Linked DNA regions of Homo sapiens: all the other regions are linked to region 1. Evidence: promoter capture Hi-C in human tissues and cell types (Jung and others, 2019). All regions are on one chromosome and are shown on one strand. The core of a region is centred on a gene start or on the middle of the fragment in contact, and the rest is flanking DNA. Distances in the headings are between cores, read along the strand shown. Region 1 holds the start of ZNF671 (zinc finger protein 671). Region 2 overlaps ZNF547 (zinc finger protein 547). Region 3 holds the start of ZSCAN1 (zinc finger and SCAN domain containing 1). Region 4 overlaps ZNF606 (zinc finger protein 606).

The links. Contacts are between HindIII fragments. The study calls those that stand out against the background at their distance.
Region 2: a fragment that was not itself captured here is called in contact with the fragment with the promoter of ZNF671 in region 1 in 1 of the 25 tissues and cell types used here (dorsolateral prefrontal cortex).
Region 3: a contact is called between the fragment with the promoter of ZSCAN1 here and the fragment with the promoter of ZNF671 in region 1, in 2 of the 25 tissues and cell types used here (adrenal gland and psoas muscle).
Region 4: a fragment that was not itself captured here is called in contact with the fragment with the promoter of ZNF671 in region 1 in 1 of the 25 tissues and cell types used here (dorsolateral prefrontal cortex).

The regions. Positions count from the first base shown.
Region 1 is chr19:57,724,099-57,731,098 of GRCh38, reverse strand. It overlaps ZNF671 (zinc finger protein 671), which reads left to right and starts at 3,475. Exons shown (of 4, transcript NM_024833.3): 1 at 3,475-3,708. The coding sequence starts at 3,571. RefSeq lists enhancers at 3,129-3,178, 3,319-3,758, 3,276-3,776 and a silencer at 3,097-3,322. The HindIII fragment of the contact is 7,784 bases long and covers 2,327-7,000 here.
Region 2 is chr19:57,368,493-57,375,492 of GRCh38, reverse strand. ZNF547 (zinc finger protein 547) reads right to left here. Exons shown (of 4, transcript NM_173631.4): 2 at 6,914-6,949; 3 at 3,585-3,711. The coding sequence starts at 6,937. Among named protein-coding and RNA genes, the nearest start is that of ZNF547, 8.4 kb to the right of the region's middle. The HindIII fragment of the contact is 8,803 bases long and covers 1,349-7,000 here.
Region 3 is chr19:58,029,991-58,036,990 of GRCh38, reverse strand. It overlaps ZSCAN1 (zinc finger and SCAN domain containing 1), which reads right to left and starts at 2,966. Exons shown (of 6, transcript NM_182572.4): 1 at 2,830-2,966; 2 at 980-1,021. The HindIII fragment of the contact is 19,074 bases long and covers 1-7,000 here.
Region 4 is chr19:57,982,250-57,989,249 of GRCh38, reverse strand. ZNF606 (zinc finger protein 606) reads left to right here. Exons shown (of 7, transcript NM_001348022.3): 5 at 529-655; 6 at 948-1,043. Among named protein-coding and RNA genes, the nearest start is that of C19orf18, 11 kb to the right of the region's middle. The HindIII fragment of the contact is 5,523 bases long and covers 1,564-7,000 here.

The sequences.
Region 1 (7,000 bases), core at 2,226-4,725:
ACCCCTGGGATGAAGCCCACTTGATCATGGTGGATAAGCTTTTTGATGTGTTGCTGGATTCGGTTTGCCAGTATTTTATTGAGGATTTTTGCATCAATGTTAATCAAGGATATTGGTCTAAAATTCTCTTTTTTTGTTGCATCTCTGCCAGGCTTTGGTATCAGGATGATGCTGGCCTCATAAAATGAGTTAGGGAGGATTCCCTCTTTTTCTATTGATTGGAATAGTTTCAGAAGGAATGGCACCAGCTCCTCCTTGTACCTCTGGTAGAATTCGGCTGTGAATCCATCTGGTCCTGGACTTTTTTTGGTTGGTAAGCTATTAATTATTGCCTCAATTTCAGAGCCTGGTCTATTCAGAGATTCAACTTCTTCCTGGTTTAGTCTTGGGAGAGTGTATGTGTCGAGGAATTTGTCCATTTCTTCTAGATTTTCTAGTTTATTTGCGTAGAGGTGTTTATAGTATTCTCTGATGGTAGTTTGTATTTCTGTGGGATGGGTGCTGTTATCCCCTTTGTCTTTTTTTATTGCATCTATTTGATTCTTCTCTCTTTTCTTCTTTATTAGTCGTGCTAGTGGTCTATCAATTTTGTTGATCTTTTCAAAAAACCAGCTCCTGGATTCATTGATTTTTTGAAGGGTTTTTTGTGTCTCTATTTCCTTCAGTTCTGCTCTGATCTTAGTTATTTCTTGCCTTCTGCTAGCTTTTGAATGTGTTTGCTCTTGCTTCTCTAGTTCTTTTAATTGGATGTTAGGGTGTCAATTTTAGATCTTTCCTGCTTTCTCTGGTGGGCATTTAGTGCTATAAATTTCCCTCTACACACTGCTTTGGACGTGTCCCAGGATTGTGGTATGTTGTGTCTTTGTTATCGTTGGTTTCAAAGAACATCTTTATTTCTGCCTTCATTTCGTTATGTACCTAGTAGTCATTCAGGAGCAGGTTGTTCAGTTTCCATGTAGTTAAGTGGTTTTGAATGAGTTTCTTAATCCTGAGTTCTAGTTTGATTGCACTGTGGTCTGAGAGACAGTTTGTTATAATTTCTGTTCTTTTACATTTGCGGAGGAGTGCTTTACTTCCAACTATGTGGTCAATTTTGGAATAGGTGTAGTGTGGTGCTGAAAAAAAATGTATATTCTGTTGATTTGGGGTGGAGAGTTCTGTAGATGTCTATTAGGTCCGCTTGGTGCAGAGCTGAGTTCAATTCCTCGATATCCTTGTTAACTTTCTGTCTTGTTGATCCGTCTAATGTTGACAGTGGGGTGTTAAAGTCTCCCATTATTATTGTGTGGGAGTTTAAGTCTCTTTGTAGGTCACTAAGGACTCGCTTTATGAATCTGGGTGCTCCCGTATTGGGTGCATATATATTTAGGATAGTTAGTTCTTCTTGTTGAATTGATCCCTTTACCATTATGTAATGGCCTTCTTTGTCTCTTTTGATCTTTGTTGGTTTAAAGTCTGTTTTATCCGAGAGTAGTATTGCAACCCCTGCCTTTTTTTGTTTTCCATTTGCTTGGTAGATCTTCCTCCATCCCTTTATTTTGAGCCTATGTGTGTCTCTGCATGTGAGATGGGTTTCCTGAATACAGCACACAGATGGGTCTTGACTGTTTATCCAATTTGCCAGTCTGTGCCTTTTAATTGGAGCATTGAGCCCATTTACATTTAAGGTTAGTATTGTTATGTGTGAATTTGATCCTGTCATTATGATGTTAGCTGGTTATTTTGCTCATTAGTTGATGCAGTTTCTTCCTAGCCTTGATGGTCTTTACAATTTGGCATGTTTTTGCAGTGGCTGGTACCAGTTGTTCCTTTCCATGTTTAGTGCTTCCTTCAGGAGCTCTTTTAGGGCAGGCCTGGTGGTGACAAAATCTCTCAGCATTTGCTTGTCTGTAAAGTATTTTATTTCTCCTTCACTTATGAAGCTTAGTTTGGCTGGATATGAAATTCCGGGTTGAAAATTCTTTTCTTTAAGACTGTTGCCTTCTTTAGAATATTTATTTAGGGTATTGTGACAAAGTCAAAAGGTGATGCAGGACAAAAATCATTATATGCAGGACATGTCCTGTATGTATAGGAATCTTGGAAATTTTATTAGTGATGTCTTTCATGCTACTAACACATTTGAAAAACACCTACTGAGAGCTCGTATGTGTTCCTTGGATGTGTATTTTAACAGTGAATTATCAAGACAGCACAACTTCACTGTTGATTTTTACCATTCTGATATCTTCTTTACAATTGCTCAGCATTTTCAGGAAAAAAGAGTCACATTTTGTTGACAAAGTGTGGTCAAGATCACAACACAACCATATGCTTAACTTCATTCTTTCACTTATACTTTAGTATTCAGGCTCAAACTTTACTGAGATCTTAACTTTGTCCATCTATCACAGATATTTCCTTAGAGCAATTTCTTTCATTATCTTCAAATAACTACGGAATCATTATTAATAGCTGTCAGGATTTTTCCCCCGGGGATAATCTCACCTCCTAACACAGACACCATACTTACAATGACAATGACAGGTTAAATGGTAATTGCACTGTGTTTTGCTGTGATGGAGACATCACTGATTACCCAGGCAGGAAGAGTTTTCTGAAGAAATCTGTCCACTGGTTTCAGGGAGACTCCACATCATCCCTCTTCCTTCTTCCACTCCAAGGCCTTGTTTGGAATATTTTCTCTTCCGTCTCTGACCAAACTGAAGCTCACAAAAGTTACTGTAAAGCTTGAGTGCACACATATTTAAAAAGCAACAAGGTAATAGTTATTAGCTTCTAGCTGTGAGTGTACGCAAAGAGACATTGTGGTGTGGTGTATCTATTTAGTTTTGCAGCTTTGGGGAACATCTGAAATGTCTCAACATTTCTGCGATCGGTGCATACTACACTCCAGGGAATCTAGGTCCAGGCCTTTTAAGAGGACAGAAGTCAGCCGGGCACCATGGCTCACTCCTGTAATCCCAGCACTTTGGGAGGCCGAAGCAGGCAAATCACAAAGTCAGGAGTTCGAGACCAGCCTGGCCAACATGGTGAAATCCCGTACTCTGCTAAAAGTACTAAAATTAGCCTGGCGTGGTGGCGGGCCCCTGTAGTCCCAATTACTTGGGAGGCTGAGGCAGGAGAATCGCTTGAACCCGGGAGGCGGAGGTTGCAGTCAGCCGAGATCGCGCCACTGCACTGCAGCCTGGGAGACAGAGCGAGACTCTGTCTCAAAAAAAAAAAAAAAAAAAAAAAAGAGGACGGAAGTCCTGTCAGCCCTTTGAAACTCGGGTTACTTTTCCCAAACAACTTGGCCCTCCTACTTCGAGTTTTCCCAAGAGCCCAGGCCGAGAATCCCCTGCCTTGAAGGATAGCTCAGTGGGAACCACACTCTACCCACAAACCTATACGTTGCATACCCAATGAGGGCCCAGGAGAGGGGTGTTTCAGTGCCTGCGGGGGGTGCGTGGGCGGGACTTCCGGCTCCTCCTTGTAGCGGACATTTTGTTTCTGTCAGGCTGTCCCTGGCCGGGGTTCTGTAACGCTTGTGTGGGCCGCAGGTGGAGGTGTTGGGAAAGCGCGGAGGAGATGTTGTCCCCAGTGTCCCGAGACGCGTCTGATGCTCTGCAGGGACGGAAGTGCCTGCGTCCCCGATCGAGACGCCTGCCGCTCCCGGCAGCTGTCCGCGCCCACGGTCCTATGGCGGAGCTAACGGACTCCGCGCGGGTGGGTGCTGCGTCCTCCGGGCCCTCAGTCACCCTTTCTCCGACTCCGAATCGTAAAGTGCCTGCAGCCCCTGTGTCCCAGGACAGCGACGCACTCTTGGGGCGGGGTCCTATCTCGGTGTGGGTGGGTGTGGGAGAGTTACGGGCGGAGGGGACGGCGCAGGTAAAGGCTCGGGGGTGCTGCTGACCCCCAAACATTTGGGAGACAGGGTTCTCATCAACACAGAGCAGAGTTTGAGGAACTGTGACTGGAATGGCAGGCTGAGAAGTTGTCGCTTCATTCTGAGGGCGTTGAGATTAACTGAGGGTTTTGAATAGAAGGACGTGATCTTAGCTGGGATTTTAAGTGTCTCGAAATTTGCTCAGGGGAGAACATTAGTTTGGGGTGGGGACTGCGAGGATGGATACGAGGAGACCGGTAAGGAGGCTACTGCAGTGGATTCCAGGAATGCTTTGGTGGTGGATGTACCAAGAGTAATGGCAGGTGAGTGGGTAGAAGTGATCATATTCTGGGTAGGTTTTAAATTTGAAACCAACAGGATTTTCTGCTCCATCATATGCAGCTATGACTGAAAGTAAGGCATGAAAGAGCAAGGTGTTTTTGTTGTTTTTCCATGAACGTTTGGATTTTGGAATGGTGACTTTGAGATGTCTCAGAGTGGAGGCTTCCTCACTTAGGCAACTAGAGAGGAAGGTCTGAAGTTGTGGGGAAGGGGCTGGGCTTAGAATATCTTTGGGGTGAAGGGAGCGGTCTGGAGTAGGTCAAGGCCAGGAGGTCAGATTTAAGTGGGGCAGTCTTAAGTATGTTATTTCATATCTCTGGGGTAAGAGATGAGAAGGCTGGGACTGCAGGGCAGGGAAGAGGGAGTGGGCATTCTTGAGACTCCCCCCAGAAGAGAAGGGTCCTGCCATTTGAAAGGGTTCTTTTCAGTGTTTGCAGGAGGAGAGAGCTGTAGGGTATGAGGAGTTTGGCCTGGGATGGCAACGATGGGTGGTGTGCTATTGCTACTATCTGATTATCTCACCCTCATTTTGTGTGTTTTCTTTTAGTTTTAGTTTATTTATTTTTTTTATTTTTTTTGAGACGAAGTCTCACTCTGTCGCCCAGGGTGGGATGCAGTGGCTTATTGCAACCTCTACCTCCCGGGTTCAAGAGATTCTCCCGCCTCAGCCTCCCAAGTAGTTGAGATTACAGGTGCCCACAACCACCCCTGGCTAATTTTAGTATTTATAGTAGAGACGGGGGTGGGGAGGTGGGAGGGGTGGGGTGGGGTGGGGAGGTGGGAGGGGTGGGGTGGGGGCGGGGGAGTGGGGGGGACGTTCACCGTGTTGGCCCAGGTGGTCTTGAACTCCCGACCTCAACTGATCCACCGGCCCCAGCCTTCCAAAGTGTTTGGATTACAGTTGTGAGCCACTGCACTTGGCTTTGGTTTTATTTTATTTATTTATTTTTTTTTTGGAGACGAGTCTCGCTCTGTCACCCAGGCTGGAGTGCAATGGTGCGATCTTGGCTCACTGCAGCTTCTGCCTCCCAGATTCAAGTGATTCTCCTGCCTCAGTTTTCCCAGTAGCTGGGATTACAGGCATGCATCACCATGCCCAGCTAATTTTTGTATTTTATTAGATAGAGTTTCACCATGTTGGCCAGGCTGGTCTCAAACTCGTGACCTCAGTTGATCCACTCCCTTCGGCCTCCCAAAGTGCTGGGATTACAAGAGTGAGCCACCATGCCTTGGCCAGGTTTTGTTTTGTTTTGTTTTTTTGAGATGGAGTCTTGCTCTTGTCACCCAGGCTGGAGTGCAGTGGCGCGATCTCGGCTCACTGCAACCTGTCTCCTGGGTTCAAGCAGTTCTCCTACCTCAGCCTCCCGAGTAGCTGGGATTACAGGTGCCCACCACCACACCCCGCTAATTTTTCCATTTTTAGTAGAGACGGGGTTTCACCACGTTTCCTAGGCTGGAGTGCAGTGGCACAATCTCGGCTCACCGCAACCTCTGCCTTCTGGGTTCAAGCAATTCTCTTGTCTGCCTCCTGAGTAGCTGGAATTACAGGCACCCGCCACCACGCCCAGCTAATTTGTTTGTATTTTTGGTAGAGACGGGGTTTCACGATGTTGGCCAGGCTGGTCTCGAACTCCTGCCCTCAGGAGATCCACCCGCCTCGGCCTCCCAAAGTGCTGGGATTACAGGTGTGAGTCATCATGCTTGGCTGAGACCCCATTTCAAAAAAAAAAAAAAGTTCACTACTTCTCCCAGTCTTGCCTAGTGTAGTAGAAGGATCTCACGAATCCATCTGGCCAAAGATTTAAGGTGCTTCTCTAATCTTTGTGTTTGTCCAGAATGCTGTCTCTGTTTTTGGTAACTCTCTGGAACTTAGGATGTACTACATTCTGTCATTATCCTAAGGCCAGAAGGTAGGAACCAGACTCTTTTGATGTAGCTGGAATGTGTTGAGGGTGTTGAATGTGTTCCAGTTTCTTCCGTTTTCATGATGCAGCTGAGCATGGGTATTTATCTCCTGCTGCCTGCATTAAGTTAGTTAGAGATCTGTGTCAAATGCCTAAAGTCGGCCAGGCGCAGTGGCTCACACCTGTAATCCCAGCACTTTGGGAGGCCGAGGCGGGTGGATCACGAGGTCAGGAGATCAAGACCATCCTGGCTAACATGGTGAAACCTTGTCTCTACTGAAAATACAAAAAATTAGCCGGGCATGGTGGTGGGCGCCTGTAGTCCCGGCTACTCGGGAGGCTGAGGCAGGAGAATGGTGTGAACCTGGGAGATGGAGCTTGCAGTGAGCCAAGATCGTGCCACTGCACTCCAGCCTGGGCAACAGTGCAAGAATCTGTCTAAAAAAAAAAAAAAAAATTGTTATGTGTCTTCTGACTGCCTCACTGACCAGCTGATCCCCATCCTTCTCCCTCTCTTTAAGCGTTCCTATTCCCTGACACACAGCAATATTGAAATCAGGTCAGTTAATAACCCTACAGTGGCCTCTAAGAGTTCAAGTTAAAGGAGTAGTTACACATCTCTCACTTTAAATCAGGGGTGTCCAATCTTTTGGCTTCCCTGGGCCTCCAGCACTAGGGGTTGCATTTCAACATGAGATTTGTAGGGGATACACATCCAATCCATATCAAACAGTGGTACAATGTGCAACAAAGAAATGGAAGAGGGTTGAGGATACCTGAGATCTGCATGTGGTTTGAGGTGCCTGTGATTGAAAAAAGGAACAGGGCCAGATTGGGAGGCTTTCAGAGCAACAATAGGGCTTTCCTTGGCAATGGGGCCATTGAT
Region 2 (7,000 bases), core at 4,501-7,000, 360 kb after region 1:
CTTAGTAGAGACGGGGTTTCGCCATGTTGGCCAGTCTGGTCTCAAACTCCTGATCTCAAGTGACCCGTCCACCTCAGCCCCCCCAAGGTGCTGGGATTACCGGAGTGGGCCACCAAGCCTGGCCAAGTATCGCGTATCTCTTTGAGACAGAGTTTTGCTCTGTCACCCAGGCTGGAGTGCAGTGGCACGATCTCAGCTCATTGCAACTTCCACCCCCTGGGTGCAAGTGATTCTCTTGCTTCAGCCTCCCGAGTAGCTAGGATTACAGGCACCTGCCACCATACCCGGCTAATTTTTGTATTTTTAGTAGAGATGGGGTTTCACCATATTGGCCAGGCTGGTCTCAAACTCCTACCTCAGATGATCCACCTGCCCCAGCCTCCCAAAGTGCTGGGATTACAGGAGTGAGCCACTGTGCCCAGCCAGGGTATTTCTTAATAGCAGTGTGAGAACGGACAAATATAGTAAACTGGTACTGAGGTAGTGAAATACTGCTGTAAGGATACCCGAAAATGTGGAAGTGACTTTGGAACTGGGTAACAGGCAGAGGCTGGAACAGTTTGGAGGGCTCAGCAGAAGACAGGAAATGTGGGAAAGTTTGGAACTTCCTAGAGACTTGATGAATGGTTTTGATCAAAATGCTGATTTAGCAATATGGGCCATGAAGCCCAGGCTGTGGTGGTCTTAGATGGAGATGAGGAACTTGTTGGGGACTGGAGTAAAGGTGACTCTTGCTATGCTTTAGCAAAGAGAATGGCAGCTTCTTGCCCCTGCCCTACATATCTGTGGAACTTTGAACTTGAGAGAGATGATTTAGGGTATCTGGCAGAAGAAATGTCTAAGTGCTAAAGTGTTCAAGAGGAAGCAAGGCAGAAAAGTTTGGAAAATTTGCAGCCTGGCTATGCAATAGAAAAGAAAAACCCGTTTTCTGGGGAGAAATTCAAGGCTGCTGCAGAAATTTGCATAAGTAACGAGGAGTGGAATGTTAACCACGAAGGTGATGGGGAAAATGTCTCCAGTGCCTGTCAGAGACCTTCCCGGCAGCCCCTCCCATCACAGGCCCAGAGGCCTAGGAGGGAAAAATGGTTTTGTGGGCCTGGCCCAGGCTGTTCAGTGCAGCCTCAGGACATGGAGCCCTGCATCCCAGCTGCTGGCCCTGGGTCCCCCTGCTCTATGCAGCCTCGGGACATGGCGCCCTGCATCCCAGCTGCTTCAACTCCAGCCATGGCTAAAAGGGGCAAGGTACAGCTCCAGCCATTGCTTCAGAGTTTAAGCCCCAAGCCTTGGTGGCTTGCACATGGTGTTGGGCCTGTGGGTGCAAAGAAGTCATGAACTGATATTTGGGAGGGAACCTCCACCTAGATTTCAGAGGAGGTATGGAAATGCCTGATGTCCAGGCAGAGGTTTGCTGCAGGGGTGGAACTCACGGAGAACCTCTGCTAGGGCACTGCAGGAAGGGAAATGTGGGGTCGGAGCCCCCACACAGACTCCCTACTGGGGTACTACCTAGTGGAGCTATGAGAAGAAGGCCACGTCCTCCAGTCCCCAGAATGGTAGATCCACCAACAGCTTGCAACGTGTGCCTGAAAAAGCCAGAGACACTCAATGCCAGCCCATGAAAGCAGCTGAGGGGGGGTCTGTACCCTGCAAAGCCACAGGGGCAGAGTTGCCCAAGACAGTGGGAGCCCACCTATTGCATCACTGTGCCCTGGATGTGAGAGATGGAGTCAGAGGATATCATTTCAGAGCATTAAGATTTAATGACTGCCTCGCTGGGTTTTGGACTTGCATGGGGCCTGTAGGCTTTGTTTTGGCCCATTTCTTCCATTAGGAATAGGTACATTTATCCAGTGCCTCTATCCCCATTATATCTTAGAAGTAACTAACTTGCTTTTGATTTTACAGGCTCATAGGCAGAAGGGACTTGCCTCATCTCAGATGAGACTTTGGACTTGGACTTTTGGGTTAATGCTAGAGTGAATTAAGAGTTTGGAGGACTGTTAGGAAGGCATGATTGGTGTTGAAATGTGGAAGGGACATAAAATTGGGTGGGGGGGGCCGGGGTGGAATAATATGGTTAGGCTCTCTGTCCCCACCCAAATCTCATCTTGAATTGTAATCCCCATAATCCCCACGTGTCAAGGGTGGGACCAGGTGGACAGAACTGAATCATGGGAACAGTTTCCCCCATGCCGTTCTCATGAAACTGAGTAAATTCTCATGAAATTTGCTGGTTTTATGTGTCTGGCATTTTCCCTGCTTGGACTCATTTGTCTTGCCGCCCTGTGAAGAAGATGCCTAGTTCTCCTTTGCCTTCCGCCATGACTGTAAGTTTCCTGAGGCCTCCCCAGCAATGGGGACCTGTGAGTCAATTAACCTCTTTCCTTTAGAAATTACCCAGTCTTGGGTATTTCCTAATAGCAGAGTGAGAATGAAGTAATACAAACACTAAGGCCAATGAGAAGAAGGCCTGCTGTGCAGAGTTGGACCTGGCAAATACCCATAATGGGAGAGCCCTGATGATGGGTAAGAACACAAGAGAGGGGTACAGTGCAGAGAGGAGGAGGGTCTCCAAGTCACTTCTCTGCAAATGGCTTTCCACAGGCCATGGCTGCTGGTGACTAGTGAGCAGTGTGTAGAAGGCTGTGTCTAAACCCAGAGAGATCTGATTGTGACAGAGGAGATGGTGTTCAGGGACTACTGACAAATACATGCAGACCTCACCTTAAGTACAGGTCATGCAGTGGATGGCACTGCAGAGGGAGCAGTTGAAGAAAATAGGTAACGGCTGGAAGCCAGGGATTAGAAGTCAGAGTAAAAATGACAACGGGGGAAGGAAAAGAAGAGTGAGTTGTGGCAACCAGTCTTCAACTAAACAACAGGGGTCACCAGACAGATTCCTAGTAATATGACCCCAGCTGTGATATTACACCTTTTCCCAACTCCCAGGAACCAGGATCATGTCCCTCTGAGTCTCTACAGCCCTTCAGGGAGTAATATCCACCCTCTTGGGTACCAGGGCCCTCCCCATTGCTTAAGGTGACAGTCTGTGAGACCTGAAAGAGACCAGTCCTAGGGGAAAGACACAGAAAGAGACAAGACAGCACATTCCCAGAGAGATCACCTGATGATATCTCACATTCGATAATCACCAGAACTTCACAGAAGATTTCTACATCCTACACAATCAAGCCAGTGGTTCACCAAATTAGTGATCAGGTCAGTGCCAGAAATTCCAGGAACAAGAAGGGACCAAGAAATATTGGCAAGAGCAAGGGAACAACAGAGCACAGAGGTCTCATGCATTTGAATAGAACACAGGGCCAGTGGGTCTCTATGTCACCTTCAACATTTCTGGATCCTGAGCCCTTTCTTGCAAGCCTCAGAACAGCAGAGGATGGGGCTGCCAGGAAAAAGGAAGCACACAGCACATATTGCAGTCCTGACTCTCATGGAACATATGTCAGGAAACAAGGAAAAGAAGCAGCACCCATGGTCTCACTGTGGGAAACGCAGAGCTGCCTTCAGGTAAAAGGAGACAACACAGCCCAACCCAGGACACTGGGCAAGTGTGAGGGCCTTACCTAGTGAGGACAAAAGGGCCAAATTCTCCAGCATCACATCACGGTACAGCAATCTCTGAGCCTCATCGAGATGCCCCCACTCCTCCTGGGAGAAATATATGGCCACGTCTTCAAAAACCACATGACCCTGCCAAATTGGGAAAGATGAATACATGAGCAGCTTTTCAAACTGTATTTACTTAAGTTCTCTATTTATTTTCTACTTATATTTACCACCCATTAAACACAGGGACAAACTAACAGCTAAATGTGTTTCCATCTCCCCTACCATCCTGGGCACATATTCTTAACCATCTCCATCTCTAACTTTCTCAAACCAAGTCAGTATTTCCCATGCTCTAAATCAACCCAGGGACAGGTACTGCACAACTAGGGACAGTCCCAATAGCCCAGGTGTCCTGGAATTACTAAAACTAGCCAAACTATCCTGACAGCCAGCCCTGCCTTGTTTCCCTTGGAAACCCCAACAGCATCTGTGGACTAAACTAAACTCACTCCAATTTTCCTCCTGATCAAATCTGGTGTTTCACCGTGTGGCCCTGTGTTATGTGGTATGTAACCTCCTTAGGGAAACGTAAGGAATAAATATCTTCTTTCAGTGTCATTGGCCTGTCCCTGGCATCACTCACTCACATCCATAAATTAAAACTCCATGGGGGCCAGGCACAGTGGCTCATGCCTATAATCCCAGCACTTTGGGAGGCTGAGGCGGGCAGATCACCTGAGGTCAGGAGTTCAAGACCAGCCTGGCCAACACAGTGAAATCCCATCTCTACTAAAAATACAAAAATTAGGTGGGCATGGCGGCACATGCCTGTAGTCCTAGCTACTTGGGAGATTGAGGCAGAACTGCTTGAATCCAGGAGGTGCAGGTTGCAGTGAGCCAAGATCATGCCACTGCACTCCAGCCTGGGTGACAACACAGCAAGACTCCATCTAAAAAAAAAAAAACAAAAAACCCCAATGGGTACAATCACTGCTACTTTTCTCTCTCCAGGAACTCATCCCTCTCCCCTACACCTCCTTTCCTTCCTCAATCTCTACACCCTCCCAATGTGGAAGAGAAACCACATCCAGGTGGCATGAGTGACTTTTCTCTCCATATTGACATTGGCCACCGTGTCCAGCACACAGAGGAAACAGATGGAAGATAAGGTAGAAAAGGAATGTGGGCCTCCCGTGGGGGGATCCATCCTCTCCTGCCAGCCAGTTTCCATGGAGTCACCCAGATCTTGCCTCCCAAGACAACCAAACTCAGACTCATCCTCCTCCCTTGAGCTACCAGGGCCAGGGCCTGAGGCCCTCCATTCACACTCCTCCTGCCTGCACATCACTCTTTGGACAGCACTCCAATCCCATCTCTCACACCTCCACTCCAGTCAATTCCACAGACACCTCCCAGCCCACACCACAGGCATTTCCTTCACCTCCTAACAGGCCACTCTGCACACAGAAACCAGGTGGTGCACGGCAAATACGCTCAGCATCCAATTCACTCCCAGTCCTGCCCCAGAACACCAAAGTTCCCTAGCACCGGGGGCAGCCCTAAGCCCTGGGTTGAAGGTTCCCTACATGGCCCTGTTTCTCACTTCACTGTCAGGTGCCCAAACCATGTGAGGACTTCACATACTCTCAGCTGTGTCCTGCCTCATGGACACAGGATTGTAAGTTTCCTGAGGCCTCCGAGTTATGCTTCCTGTTAAGCCTGAAGAACTATGGGCTGGGTGCGGTGGCTCACGCCTGTAATCCCAACACTTTGGGAGGCTGAGGAGGATGGATCACGAGGTCAGGAGATCAAGACCATCCTGGCCAACATGGTGAAAGCCCATCTCTACTAAAAATACAAAAATTAGCTGGGCGTAGTGGGGTGAGTCTGTCGTCCCAGCTATTCAGGAGGCTGAGGCAGAAGAATCGCTTGAACCTGGCAGGGAGAGATTGCAGTGAGCCGAGATTGTGCCACTGCACTCCAGCCTGGGCCACATCTCAAAAAAAAAAAAAAAAAAAAAAAAGAACTGTGAGTCAATTAAACTTCTTTTCTTCATAAAGTACCCAGTCTCAGGTAGTTCTTTGTAGCAATATGAAAACAGACTAATAGAATTCCCATCCTCATCTCATTCCAACTGATGCTTAGCAACTCTCCGACCTCACCCTATTACCCTCCTCAGCAACCCCATCATGTCCACTCTCCTTCAGAAGTCTTTCTCACTCCTATACCCCACCATCTCACATACACTCATCCCCACAAACACTCCATTCCCTCATTTGTCTAGTGACTCCTCCACCACTGCACAGCTACCCAGTAAGAGACCCAGTTCTCATGCCCCATTCCAATTCTCTGTCTTCGAACAGCACTGCCACCATAACCTAGAGATGCTGTCACCTAAACTGAATCCATGGCTTCATCCTGGTCCATACGACAGCCACCATAGTGTGGACGTCTCCAACCTGAACTCCTCCACCAGGAGTCTCTGAGACATCTGTGGCTTGAACAAACACTGACTCCTCACACTCACTCTGAAAATTCCTAATACTGCTGACTTCTCCCATCTTAGCTGATGGAGCATCTATGCTTCCAAACAAAAACCATGGGGCCACTCCTGATTCCCCTTCTATCCCACCCCCCCAGCTGCCTCACTCTCTACATCATAAAATGTGGGCAGCTCCAGTTCAAAACACATCCTGAAGCCACCGCTACTCTTGACAAGTCACCACCAACATCCACCTAGACTGCTGCAGGAACATCCTCTCAGATCTCCCTGCCATTACCCTCACCTCCACAGTCTGTCCTCCACTCAGACGCCAAAGAAAGTTCCTTAAGCTAGGGTCCTATCACTGCCCTCTTCTGCTTCAAATCTTCCCCATCTACCACCTCCCTTAGATTAGAGACCCAGGACCTAGGCTGTCATTCCAGGCCTGATGTTTGTGTGTCTCTAGCCACCTCCCACTCTGCTCCCTATTCCTATCCGATATAACAGACACTTGCAGTTCCCTAAAAATCCAGTTCAGTCTCTCCTCTAAACACTGAAACATTCTTAATCTTGTGCCCATGACACTCTGACAGATGTTACCACGTCAACTGTCAAAAATGGGAGCCACTCCACATAATCCAGGGCCATCCAGGTAAGGTGTCACAGTAAACTTAAAACAATCAAACAAAAATCCCAGACCTAATTTAAGATACTAGAACTGGTGGAATCACTCACTTTTCAGACATAAGAGAGGGAGAAAGACAGAAAGAGAGTCTCTGGACACCACTTTTCTTTACATGGAGGTGCCAAAACCATCTATGAGATAACTGGTAGGTGAAAGGTAGAAAACACTCCACTCACCTGTGCAGGGTTCATTTCTGCCATCGCCAGGGGACCCTGAAGGAAGAGGGAAACCGTGAGAAATGGGCAACGATGGGAAGATCTTAC
Region 3 (7,000 bases), core at 1,717-4,216, 310 kb before region 1:
CTTTTGTGGCCGGGTGCCGTGGCTCACACCTGTAATCCCAGCACTTTGGGAGGCCCGGGTGGGTGGATCACCTGAAGTCAGCAGTTCAAGACCAGCCTGACCGACATGGCGAAACCCCGTCTACTAAAAATACAAAAATTAGCCGGCGTGGTGGTGCACACCTCTAATCCCAGCTACGTGGGAGGCTGAGGCAGGAGAATTGCTCCAACCCAGGAAACAGAGGTTGCAGTAAGCCAAGATCGCACCACTGTACTCCAGCCTGAGTGACAGCGTGAGATTCCATCCCAAAAAAAATAAATAACCAAAAATGAGTTGGGCGTGGTGGCACGCACCTGTAATCCCAGCTACTCGGGAGGCTGAGACAGGAGAAATGCTTGAACCCAGGAGGCGGAGATTGCAGTGAGCTGAGACTGTGCCACTGCACTCCAGCCTGAGCGACAGAGTAAGACTCTGTCTCAAAAAAAAAAAAAAAAAAGAAAAGAAAAAAAAGAAGTTACCTTTTGTACATTTTCCAAGCCGACTATGGTGAACATATAACTGAAGAAAACATTAAAAGTTGTAAAAATAAAAATAAGCAGGGAGGTTTCGTTTGTTTGTCTTTAACAATTGTACTCTGGACTGATCCGCTGGTGAGAATATAAATTGGCACGACCTTTCTGGAAAGCACTGTGGCCATTTATATATCAAGAACACTTGGTAGACTGCGTGCAAGATGCGAGATTCAGGCACCAAGATTCACTACAAAAGTGCCCAACAGTTGAACGTGGTGGGATCAACTACCTCCCCCATCATGTGATGGGAGTATTCAACCGTGCCCAGTACACAACACTATGACATGACCACGGGGAGTAGACACATGATGTACAGATGACATGAGGCACAGGGAACGTGGGATGCAGGATGATGCGTGAGTGTCATAGAAAGGGAGTCCTGGGAAGACGCCCATGGGGGGCGGCCAAGTGCTTTGTGCTGTTCATACTTCTCTGAATCTCCTCCAAATGGTGTCGGGCTCCCATGTGACCTTCATCAACATGGAAAAACAAAACAAAACAAGACATCTTTAGGAAGGATTTTTGACCATATGGGAAATGCTTATGACAAGTGAAAAGGAGGGATTCCATGGGATTTTTCCCTCTTCATCCTCTGCTGCATTTTTCATACACTCTGCAGTTCTCGTGCATCTGGTTTTACAATCCAGGAGAAAGGAGAGGTGCAGGGTGGCAGAAAGGCAACTCACGGGGACTGTGCCCAGCCAGCCATCTTCGAGTCAGCGTACCCGGCCACCTGCACCCTGATTGGGAAACTACCAGCTTGGTCTTCCCTGCCAAGGCCACAGGCAAAAATGCTCTCTTATGTTGTATTCACACTTTTATATATGTAGTTTTGAATAAGAAAAAAGGGCCTATTTTGAAGCTCCACAGGTTCAAGAAATCCCTTTGCCCTGGGGCCTCAGACCTTATACTCTCTCAGGTGCTCATGGCAGCTCACCCTGGAGACTCTAGGGAGGGGGGCTGTAGCCCCTCAGCATCCTCCAGGGTCCTGGGCTGAGGTCTGTGGGAGGAGATGCTAAGTTTATCAGGGATGAGGGTAAAGAGGAGGTCTTAGCAGAAGGCACCAGAGGTCCATGGGTGTGTCTGGGGTCTATATGGGGGCTGATGTGGAACACCTAGGCCAATGTGGGGGTACCTGAGCTGATGAGAGTCCTGGACTGATGGGTGGCTGTTTCTGGAAGATGAAGAGGGCCTGGGATGATGTGAAGGGGACTGAGGTCTACATGGCTGGTGAGGAGGATCTGGGCCCCCCCATGGGCAATGCTGTGGTGGCCCTGGGGTCCTAGAAGTCTACTTTGGTAGGGGTCTCTGATTAATGTTGGGGATGTGTGTGTGTGAGAGAGTGTCACTTGGAGGGCTCAGTGCCTGTGGAAGGGCCAGGTTCACCTGGCATGGGCACTGAGATCTGCAGCCCGAGCCCCAAATTCTATTGCGGGGATGGGCAGAAGGGCTTTGCCGCTGATGCCGGATGCTTAGTGACATAGAAGACGTGTTCACTGCGCCAGTCAGTGAATGGTTCTGGCTTTGAGAAGGGGGCTTACAGTGGGGAGGGCGTTGGGAGCTTAGGATGCCACACGGAGGAGTTCCATAATAAACGAGCTGGGGAAGTGTGCAAGGGCAGCGCACTGGGAATACAGGGGAGGGGCAGCGACGACGGCTGTGGACGGCTGGTTGGGGGGAGGATGGTGGGGTGATTGGGTGGGGGATGGGTCGGGGGCGGCTGTTCAGGAGGGAGATGGGCCTGGGGCGGGGAGGGGGAGCTTGTAGGGAGAGAGACGGGTCGGGGGCTGCTGTTCCAGTGGGGGATGGGCCCAAGGGGCCGGGTAGGGAGGGAGATGGGTCCGGGGGCGGCTGTTCAGGAGGGAGATAGGTCCCGGGATGCTGATCAGGTGTGGAAGGGAGAACTTGGACGCGGCCGAGCGGTGTTTGGGCGGGCAATGGGGGTACGTAGAGGGGCTTCGGCCTCAAACGGACAGGCGGATGCCAACAGGGGTCGGGGTCCCTGCGGAAGGGGCGGCCCCAGCCCCCCCAGTCCCCGCCCCGCGTGGCCTCTAGCCTTCCCCTTCCCTCCCCTACGGCGACCTCAGGACTCCCGATGGGCTCTGGAACCCCGGCCCGGCCCGCCCCCTCCCGGGCCCGGGCCCGCCTCCCCCGACGCGCGCCCCTGGACCGCGATCCCGGGCCAGCTCCCGCCGACGCGGCGCCGAGACCCTCCCGGGTGGGCGTCCCGATGGACGCTCTGGCGGGCGGAGGGACGGATGGGCCGCGGCGGACTCACCGCGCGCGGGCTTCGCTCGGGCCTGGGCCACTCGGTCATGGCGACCCCTGGGCTGGCGAGCGCGCCCAACGCCGCGGGCGGACCCCATCCCCGCACCCTGCGCGCCGCGGGCGGCCGCCATTGGTCCGCTGGATCACGCCGGGCGTCGGTGACAAGTCACCGCTGCGGGACTCCCGGGCAGGGGCGGGGCTGTGACGCACGAGGCGGCCGAGGCCAATCAGAAGCCGCCTGGGATGAGCGCCCCGCCCCCGCCGTGCCCTCCAGTTACCTCGGGCCGCGGTTCCAGTCGCCTTGGCAACGGGTCGCGCAGCGTCAGGGACGCTGCTGCGGAAAGTGGAGACGGTGGCGGCTGCGGGGATGCGCATGTACGATGGGGCCGCGGGGCAAAACGACGGCATTCCAGACACGCAACCGTTTTATACAGTGTCCAAGAGTAGTATGTTAAAACATTGTTTTTAATATAAATATGTTTAGTACAAGTATGTCCCAGACTAGGATCGCCACTCTTAGCAAATAAAAATACAGGACGTCGGCCGGGCGCGGTGACACGCCTGTAATCCCAGCACTTTGGGAGGCCAAGGCAGGCGGATCACGAGGTCATGAGTTCGAGACCAGCCTGACCAATATGGTGAAACCCCCGTCTCTACTAAAAATACAAAAATTACCTGGGCGTGGTGGCGCATGCCTGTAATCCCAGTTTCTCAGGAGGCTGAGACAGGAGAATCACTGGAACCGGGGAGGCGGAGGTTGCAGTGAGCCGAGATTGCTCCATTGCACTCCAGTTTTCCAGCGTGGGTGACAGAGCGAGACTCCGTCCCCCCACCCCCAAAAAAAAGAAAGAAAAAAGAAACCTCAGTTATATGTAAACTCAAGAAAAACAAGGAGGCCGGGCGCGATAGCTCACGCCTGTAATCCCAGAACTCGGGAGGCCGAGGCAGGCGGATCACCTGAGGTCGGGTGTTTCAGACCAGCCTGGCCAACATGGTGAAACCCCGTCTCTACTAAAAATACAAAAATTAGCCAGGCATGGTGGTGCGTGCCTGTAATCCCAGCTACTCGGGAGGCTGAGGTAGGAGAATCGCTGGAACTGGGGAAGCCGAGGTTGCAGTGAGCCGAGACCTGCCAACGCACTCCAGCCTTGCCTGGGCAACAGAGTGAGACTCTGTCTCAAAAAAAAAAAAAAAAAAAAAAAAAGAAAGAAAGAAAAAGAAAAACAAGGAATTAGTATCAATGTGTCCTATATTTCATATACTTTAACGAAACCTTACATAAGAACATTTCATATAAATAAGTTTTAATATTAATGTCTACAATGTAACCATGTGCCAGAATAGTAGGGTTCCACAGATACTCGTTTTGTATCTGAAATCAGGTGGGGGTGAGATCATGATGCAAGGAGGGTCCTCAGCTCTGGGACTGAGCTCAGGATAGCTGAAGCTGCTCATTGCTGAAGAAGAAGCAGGAGAGTGTGAGCTAAGAAAAGAGAGGAGGACCCACCTCCAGGGGGTCCAGCATCTGCTGGACAGCTGTTTATTGAGGGCCTATGTGTACCAGGCACTGTTCTGGACACTGGGGTGGGAGCACATCAGTGAGAGGGACTGATAGGGCTTTAGTCCCTTGGAAGCCCATGTTCATGGGGCAAACACCAGTAAACAAAGCAGATGCTTCATGGAAATATAAATACCTAGAATAAAATAAAACGAGGCCTGGAGATTAAGAGTCCCAGGAGTGGCAGGGAGGGGAGGGGCTGCCTCAGCTGGATAATCAGAGCCGTGTCTCCGCATCTTTGCTGCTGGCGGCTGGTCCCTGGAATGTTGTGTGTGAATGCCACTTTGTGCAGAAACCACTATGGGAAAACCAAATTAGGGTGCTAAGGGCTTATTATTCTCCTTCTTGAAAATTAGGCACTTGTAATGACATGGTTCATTTTCTTGGTAGCTGAAATTGGCGTGGCCCTTTGGGGCAGTGAAGGCTCATGTGTGCATTTATAACTGCCACCCATTTGGGAAATCTCCCTTGAGAGAACACTGACTTAGTCTGTCTCTAGAGTCTGGATCTAGACACCATCATAGGCCACCTGGTAACTCTAGATCCATTGGGAGGCAGCCTGGTGTCTAGCAGAGGTTTCAGTTTTTTTTTGTTTGTTTGTTTTGTTTTTTTTAAAAAGAGTCTTGCTCTTGTTGCCCAGGCTGGAGTGCAAAGGCGTGATCTTGGCTCACTGCAACCTCCACCTCTCGGGTTCAAGTGATTCTCCTGCCTAAGCCTCCAGAGTAGCTGAGATTACAGGTGCCCACCACCACATTCAGCTAATTTTTTTGTATTTTTAGTAGAGACGGGGTTTTACCATGTTGGCCAGGCTGGTCTTGAACTCCTGACCTCAGGTGATCCACCTGCCTCGGCCTCCTAAAGTGCTGGGATTACAGGCATGAGCCACCGTACCCGGACCAAAATTTTTTTAAGCAGTAGAAATCTTTGTCCCAAATTAAATCTTACTCGAAATCCCAATTAAAAGTAAATCAGCTAAAAGCAGAACTGTTATGGGTGCCAGGGGCTAGAAGAAGGGGCAAGGGGAATTCTTTTGGGGGCGATGAAAAGATGCTGGAATTAGATTCCAGTGATGATCGCACAATCTGGAGAATGTACCAAAAACTACTGAACTGTAAAAGGTTCGGCTGGGTACAGTCACTCACGTCTGTAATCCAAGCACTTTGGGAGGCTGAGGTGGGCAGATCACTTGAGGTCAGGAGTTCAAGACCAGCCTGGCCAACATAGTGAAACCCCGTCTTTACCAAAAAATTTAAAAAATTAGCTGAGCATGGTGGTGGGTACCTGTAATCCCAGCTACTCTGGAGGCTGAGGCAAGCAAATTGCTTGAACCTGGGAGGCAGAGGTTGCAGTGGGTGAGTGGGTGGAGATTGTGCCATTGCACTCCAGACTGGGCGACAGAGTGAGACTCCATTTCAAAAAAAAAAAAAAAAAAAAAAGAAGGGTGAATTTTATGCTGTGTGAATTATATCTCAATAAAAATGTTATTTTGGCCAGGTGCAATGGCTCACACCTGTAATCCCAGCATTTTGTGGGGCCAAGGTGGGAGGATCCCTTAAACCCGGGAGTTTGAGACCAGCCTGGGCAACATGGCGAAACCCCGTCTCTACAAAAAAATAGAAAAATCAGCCAGGCATGGTGGCTATTTCTGTAGTCTCAGCTCCTCGGGAGGCTGAGTCAGGAGGATGACTTGAGCTCAGGAGTTCAAGGCTGCAGTGAGCTATGATGCATTGCCACTGCACTCCAGCCTGGGTGACAGAGTGAGACCTCATGTCTAAAAAAAAATGCAGAACTGTTTGAGTTGAAGCTATGGGAGAAGACCTAGAATCCCAGTTTGAAGGACCCCTCTTTGAACCTTTCTAAGGAAGACCGAATGTCACCCCCTTACACTCAAAAATCAACTCCAGATGGAACTGGGCCCCATCTCTACAAAAAATTTAAACATTAGCCTGGCATGGTGGCACATGCCTGTAGTCCCAGCTACTTGGGAGGCTGAGGTGGGAGGATTGCTTGATCCCAGGAGTTTGCCAGCCTGGGCGACAGAGTGAGACCTCATCTCTGAAAAGAAAAAAGATAAAAAAGGAAAAAAAAAGCTCACCAAGCCTACCCCAAGCTTAGAAAGATACTACCCTCTTACATACATGGGGCTAACCAATGTGAAGAAAAGTCCCATCTGACTAGTTAGTGATCAGGGACACACAAATCAAGAACGTGGTGAGGTTTTTTGTTGTTGTTGTTGTTGTTTTGTTTGTTTGTTTGTTTGTTTTGGAGACTAAGTCTTGCTCTGTCACCCAGGCTAGAGTACAGTGGCACGACCTTGGCTCACTGCAACCTCTGCCTCCCAGGTTCAAGCAATTCTCCTGCCTCAACCTCCCAAGTAGCTGGGACTACAGGCATGTGCCACCACGCCCAGCTAATTTTTGTATTTTTAGTAGAGATGGGATTTCACCATGCTGGCCAGGATGGTCTCGATCTCTTGACCTCGTGATCCGCCCGCCTCGGCCTCTCAGAGCGCTGGGATTACAGGCGTTAGCCACCACGCCCAGCCTCCTCAGTTCACTTTTTAGTGTGGTATTTTCTCCAAAGTGATAAGGTCTGGAATTTTTTTTTTTTTTTTTTTTCTGAG
Region 4 (7,000 bases), core at 3,076-5,575, 260 kb before region 1:
GCTCACCCTTAGCTTCAGTCCTTGGGACAGAGATGAACTGAGAATGGAAACCTCCCCACCATGGCTGGAAAGACAACTTGTGAATGTACAGATCACCCTTTCAGGTCCTTTATCTGGGTGTCGGAGCAAAGACTCCATCCTCAAGGTCTCGCTTGTAGCCAGTGCTCATAGCCTGTTGCTGCACTGGTCCAGGCCTTTTTATATGACTGCCTTTCCAGAAGAGGGGTGTTGCCAAGGTGGGGGACATAGCCAGTGTGCTGGAATTTGGCAAGAGTCTTCGAAGAGACCTGCTCAGCTTTGCTGTGGTTATTGTGGACCCAGGTATCTAATTCCCTAAGAGTATATAACAAATATGAGGTCTTGGGTGGTTCTCAATGAGACCTGACTCACATTAGTCAGACTCTTGAATAACCAGGAGAGTTTCTCTACATCCTGTCTTCTCTCCCCAGGGCTGTCAGCCTCACTCCATCCCTGGAAATATTGGAGGGGGTGGTCACAGGCTGAGAAGGAACGTTTGTGTTCTTTTAGGAACCAGTGACCTTCAAGGACGTGGCCGTGGACTTCACCCAAGAAGAGTGGGGGCAGCTGGACCTTGTTCAGAGGACCCTGTACCGTGATGTGATGCTGGAGACCTATGGTCACCTGCTCTCTGTGGGTAAGGCAGGTGCTGCCCAAGTAAACGAAGCTGTTCCCATGGTAATGCCTTCAGCTGCTCCATGTTTAGAAGCTCATTGCAGGGGCGAGGGTGGTGTCTCAGAAGAGCTGAGATGATCTTGGGCCCTGAGGTTCAGGGATGAAACTCCTAATGCTTAAAGAGCATGGAGTGGGAAGGACCTTGCATATTCTGCCCAGGTTGAGAAGTCACAGGGAGGAATAGGCAAGAGAAGCTTTCTTTGGCTGTCCTGAAGCCTCATGACATGATTTCCATGCTTTTCCTCCATGCATAGGAAATCAGATTGCCAAGCCTGAGGTCATCTCCCTGTTGGAGCAAGGAGAAGAGCCGTGGTCAGTGGAGCAGGCATGTCCTCAACGCACTTGTCCAGGTGAGGGCAGACCCCAGGCTGAACAAGGAACTTCCCCCCAAGCCCTCTTTGTTGAGAAATGGGATAAGGCCATGAAGAGTTACCTTCCTCAGATGCATTTAGAATTCCCTCTAAGGAGCTTTCTTCTCTTGCTGCTTTTGATTTAGAGCAAAGAAGCATCACCATCCTAATAAGGTAGCCATTTTCCCTCGCTGTCGGCTCTTGATGGCTCCTGTTTTCTGCGGTCCCTTCCTCTAAGGTTGCCTCTAAGGTTACCTCTTATCCATGTAGCTACTTCAAATATTTTCCTTATTTCCTGTATTGCCAAACTTGTAACCTATAGCTATAGATGCTTATTTCAAAAAAATAGTCTTTTTGGGCTTTTTAGTTTGTTTGTTTTGAAATAAAGTCTCGCTCTGTCGCCCAGGCTGGAGTGCAGTGGTGCGATCTCGGCTCACTGCAACCTCTGCCTCCCGGGTTCAAGCGATTCTCCCACCTCAGCCTCCTGAGTAGCTGGGATTACAGGCACCCGCCACCATGCCTGGCTAGTTTTTGTATTTTTAGTAGAGACGGGGTTTCACCATGTTGGCTGGGCTGGTCTCGAACTCCTGACCTCAAGTGATCCGCCCACCTCGGGCTCCCAAAGTGCTGGGATTACAGGCATGAGCCACCGTTCCCGGCTTGGGCTTTTGTTCTTTCTTACTTAGATCTTGTGGGTACCAAACAAAATAGATTTTTAAAATATAGGTAATGTTCAAATATCTGAAAGCTACTTAAAATGTATAAGCTAAAAAAAAAATCTCCTTTATTAAAAAACTTAGCTGGGCTTTATGGTGCATGTCTGTGGTCCTAGCTACTCAGGGGGCTGAGGTGAGGATTGCTTGAGCCTGGGATGTTGAGGCTGTAGTGAGCTGTGATTTCACCACTGCACTCCAGCCCGAGTGACAGAGCAAGACCCTGTCTGAAAAACACCACCAAAAATAACTCATTTTTACTCCCTGCTGTTACTCACATTACTGTTATTCCCCCAAAACACAGATACACAGAGGCATACACACAGGTAACTACTTTTCTTTTACTATAAAATCTTGAGTTATTTTCTTGGTAGTTGCCCTGGGGATTACAATTAACATCTTTTGAGACAAGGTCTTGCTCTTCTGCCCAGGCTGGAGTGCAGTAGTACAATCTTGACTTACTGCAGCCTCTGCATTGCAAGCTTAGGCAGTCCTCCCACCTCAGCCTCCTAGGTAGCTGGGACTACAGCCATGCACCGTCATGCTCAGTTAATTAAAAAAAAATTTTTTTTTGTAGAGACAAGGTCTCACTATATTGCCCAGGCTAGTCTTGAACTCCTGTGCACAAGCAATCCTCCTGCCTTGGCCTCCCAAAGTGCTGAGATTATAGGTGTGAGCCACCACGCCTGGCCCTACAATTAACATCTTAATTTATGACAATGTAGTTTGGATTAATACTAGTGTAATATTAATAGTATACCAAAACTTTGTGTATAGCTCTGCCCTCCTCCTTTTATGCTGTTTTGTCACAAATTACATCTTTATACATTGTGTGTTCATGAATATGGATTTATAATTATTGCTTTATGCAGTTGTCTTTTAACAGACTGAAAAAAAGGAGCTAGAAACAAGAATTTTACTTATATTGTCTTTTTATACTTATGTAGCTATCTTTATTGCTGTTTTTTATTTTGAGTTACTGTTGAATGTTCTTTCATTTCAGCCTGAGGAACTCATTTTAGCATTTCCATTTTGTTTTTTGAGATAGAAAAGACACTCTGTTGCCCAGGCTGGAGTGCAGTGGCATGATCTTGGCTTACTGGAGTCTCAACCTTCTAGGCTCAAGTGATCCTCCCATCTCAGCCTCCTGAGTAGCTGGGACTATAGGTGCACACAACCACGCCTCACTGTGTTGCCTAGGCTGGTCTTAAACTCCTGAGCTCAAGTGATGCCCCTGCCTCAGCCTCTCAAAGTGCTGGGATTACAGGCGTGAGTCACTATCCCCAGCCAGCATTTCCTGTCGGACAGGTTTGCTAACAGTGAACTGTGGCGTTTTGTTTATCTGGAAATCTCTTGATTTCTCCTTCATTTTTGAAGGATAATTTTACTGGGTATAGAATTCTTGATTGTCATGTTTTTTTGTCTTTCTTTCTGGCCTGAGTCGTTTCTGAGAAACAAGCTGTTAATCTTATTGAAGATCCCTTGTACGTGATGAATTTCTTCTCTCTGCTTTCAGGATTCTCTCTTCGGCTTTTATTTTATTTTATTTATTTATTTATTGAGACAGACTCTTGCTCTGTCGCCCAGGCTGGAGTGCAGTGGCGCGATCTTGGCTCACTGCAGCCTCTGCCTCCTGGGTTCAAGCGATTGTCCTGCCTCAGCCTCCTGTGTAGCTAGGATTACAGGGGCCCGCCACCACGCCCAGCTAATTTTTTTTTTTTTGTATTTTTAGTAGAGGCAGGTTTCACCGTGTTAGCCAGGGTGGTCTCAATCTCTTGACCTCATGATCCACCCACCTCGCCCTCCCAAAGTGCTGGGATTACAGGCGTGAGCCACCACCCCTGGCCCTAGTTTAATTATTATGGGTATGCATGTAGCCTTCTAGGTTGGAGCTTCTCAGAGTCCCTATAGACATCTCATTCCTCAGCTCTTTCATTCTATCTTTTTGACTCGTGTGTTTTGGGCCCCACCTGTTTGCCATCACCTCAGGCAGTGGTGACTTTAAAACATTGCCTGTAAATGTTAGAAAAGTACCTCCTCCCTAGAGGTTTTGTAACACTATGAGAGTTCTCTGTCAGGCAAAATAAAGACCAGCTTTTCCAGTGGAGTCTTCCAGGGAGCCACTAGGCAGGTCTAGTAATGAGTGTTCTTTGAGAATGAGGCTTTGAAAAAGCTCCAGCTTTGTTCTGCTCACTGAAGTACCAGAAGTGGGGGCTGTCATTTTTCCAAGGCTGTTACTGAGCCAGAGATGGGACCGGGGTAAGTTAGAACACCATATAGCTTACTGTTCTTATTAAAATTTACTTTTCTAGAATACATGTTTTCCTGGTTGCTGCAAGGCTTTGGTTAATTTTGTTTTTTTGTGTTTTTGTTGTTGTTGTTGTTTTTGTTTTTGTTCTGAGATGGAGTCTCGCTCTGTCGCCCAGGCTCAAGTGCAGTGGCATGATCTCAGCTCACTGCAAGCTCCGCCTCCCAGGGTCACGCCATTCTGCTGCCTCAGCCCCCCTAGTAGGTGGGACTACAGGCGCCCGACACCACGCCTGGCTAATTTTTATGTATTTTTAGTAGAGTTGGGGTTTCACCATGTTAGCCAGGATGGTCTTGATCTCCTGACCTCGTGATCCGTCCGCCTCAGCCTCCCAAAGTGCTGGGATTACAGGCATGAGCCACTGCGCCTGGCCTAGGCTTTGGTTAATTTACAGAATTTTGAAAAATTGCCTTCTGACAGTTTTGCCAGTTTTTTAGTTGGTTTTACAGAGTGGTGAAATTTTACATGTCTTTACTTGGCCATTTTCACTGACATTCTGCCTCAGGTAATCACTTTTAGTAATTTCTGTTACATGCATAACAGAGTTTCTTTATGCAGCTACAAGCATGTAGGAATTTGTAGTTATTTTTCATGTTTTCAACAATAGGAGATTATACACATTGTCTTTATCTTATTATTTTTGGCAATGTGCCACAGCCTCTTCTTGAGTCCTGAAGTTGGATTATCTTCCACCCACTCTAATGGAGGGGACTTTTGTGGAGAATCTCTCCAGTTGTTTTCCATTCAGATTGGAAACTTTCCCCTAAGAGCTCATGAATTCCAGGAGCTTTAATTCTTCTACCTTCAGTGCTGCCCATTCTTAGTTACCATCCAGAGCCCTGCAATTCCAGCACCTCTGTCCTTACACTTCTCCCATTTTACAAAGCATCTCACCTGTCTCCTTGATCACAGCCGATAGAACCAGTAATCTTGTCTCTACTTTCTAGATGTTCTCCCATCTTCCTGAGGTGCATTTCTGCATGTCCCCTAAGCTGGAGATTGAGAAGTCATCTTGACTTCGAGCTCTTTCCTCTCCAAGAAGTAATCTCTCTTCTAACTCCCAAGATTTTCTTCCTCTGAAATGTTAGTTACGTCATTCAGCTTCCATCATCACTCTCACAGTCCGGCCCCTTTCTCGTAAAATTCCAGCCCAAGTTGATGAGGAAATTCTCACTTGTTATTAGCCACCTCAGGTACTATTTCTAGATTTATATCCCTGAAATCTTTGATTATGAGATCCCTGTCAGTAAACCTACAGTGATTCTAATTGCCTTGTAACAAAACAACTGGATTTCAAAACCTTCTATTTTTTCTATTGTTTCTCTCATTTCCTGAATAGCTCCTGGAGTTTTATTCAGCAGGTATCCTTATCTTCCTCCTCACACACTGGTCACGCCATGCATGCCTCTGCTCATGCTGAGTGACTAGTCAGTCTGTACCCAGGTCGTGCTTCAAGGCTGAGCTCATGTTGTTTCTCTTGTGTGAACCATCCTCGATCACTTCAGTTAGTGCTGATGTCCTTTTTTGATCTCCCACCCACTTAGCATCTGTTCTATAACCCCACCATCTCAGAGTGATATTTCTTTTTCTTTTCTTTTTTTTTTTTTGAGACGGAGTTTTGCCCTTGTTGCCCAGGCTGGAGTGCAATGGTGTGGTCTTGGCTCACTGCAACCTCCACCTCCCGGGTTCAAGCAATTCTCCTGTCTCAGCCTCCCGAGTAGCTGGCATTACAAGCGCCTGCCACTATGCCCGGCTAATTTTTTGTATTTTTTTAGTAGAGACGGGGTTTCACCATGCTGGCCAGGCTGGTCCTGAACTCCTGACCTCAGGTAATCCACCCGCCTCAGCTTCCCAAAGTGCTGGGATTACAGGCGTGAGCTACCATGCCCGACCTCAGAGTGATATTTCATGTATATTCATCACTGTTTGGTAGGATCTCTCTTCACATAGATTCTGACTTCCAGGGAGACCGTACTTTCTTGCCTTGTCTCTGGTGCTGGAAACTCAGTAGACTACAAGTACTGAGTGAGTATAAAGTTGGACAAGAACTGTTCATTTGGTCTTTCAGTTGGTCTTTCATTTGGTCAGGGAATTGGTCAGCTTCCATTTGTAAAAAGCTTTTACTGGAAGGATTTAAAAATCTATATGAAGATAATTCAGTAACTTTTAAGAGCTGAGCTTGAAATTGATAATAAATGCCAGTTGTGCAGAGTAGAACCTCTGTTATAATGGTCGTGGGGGCCAGGGATGGGGGTTCACATTTGTAATCCCAGTGCTTTGGGAGGCCAAGGTGGGAGGATTATTTGAGCCCAGGAATTTGAGACCATCCTGGGCAACATGGCGGGACCCTGTCACTATAAAAAATTTAAAAACATTTAGCCAGGCATGGTTGTATATACAGGATTCATGCCTGTAGTCCTGTTACTCGGAAGGCTGAGGTGGGAGGATTGCCTGAGCCCAGTAATTTGAGATTACAGTGAGCTATGACGGTACCACTGCACTCCTGCCTGAGTGAGACCCTGTCTCAAAAAAATTAAACAAAAAATAATGGACTTGGGTGGTAAAAGGGGGGAAATTACATATAGTAAAGAGAAAAAAAGAAGCAGAGAGAGAGGGCAAGGTCTAGTTCTTGTTGGGACCTGCCTGGGGCTTTAGACCCTGTAGCAATCTGGATAATGACTTCCCCCACAAAGATATCTGCATCCTAATCTCCAGAATTTGTGAATGGGGCACCTTGTATGGCAAAAGGGACCTTCAGATGAGAGTAAATTAAGGATCTTGCTGTGGGGAGATTATCCTGGATTGTCTGAGTGGATTCTAAATGTACTCACAAGGGTCCTTTTATAAGATTGTGGTGGGAGGGTCAGAGACATGGGAGAGGATGTGATGACAGAAGCAGAGGTTGGAGTGATGAGCTTTGCAGATGGAGGAAGGAG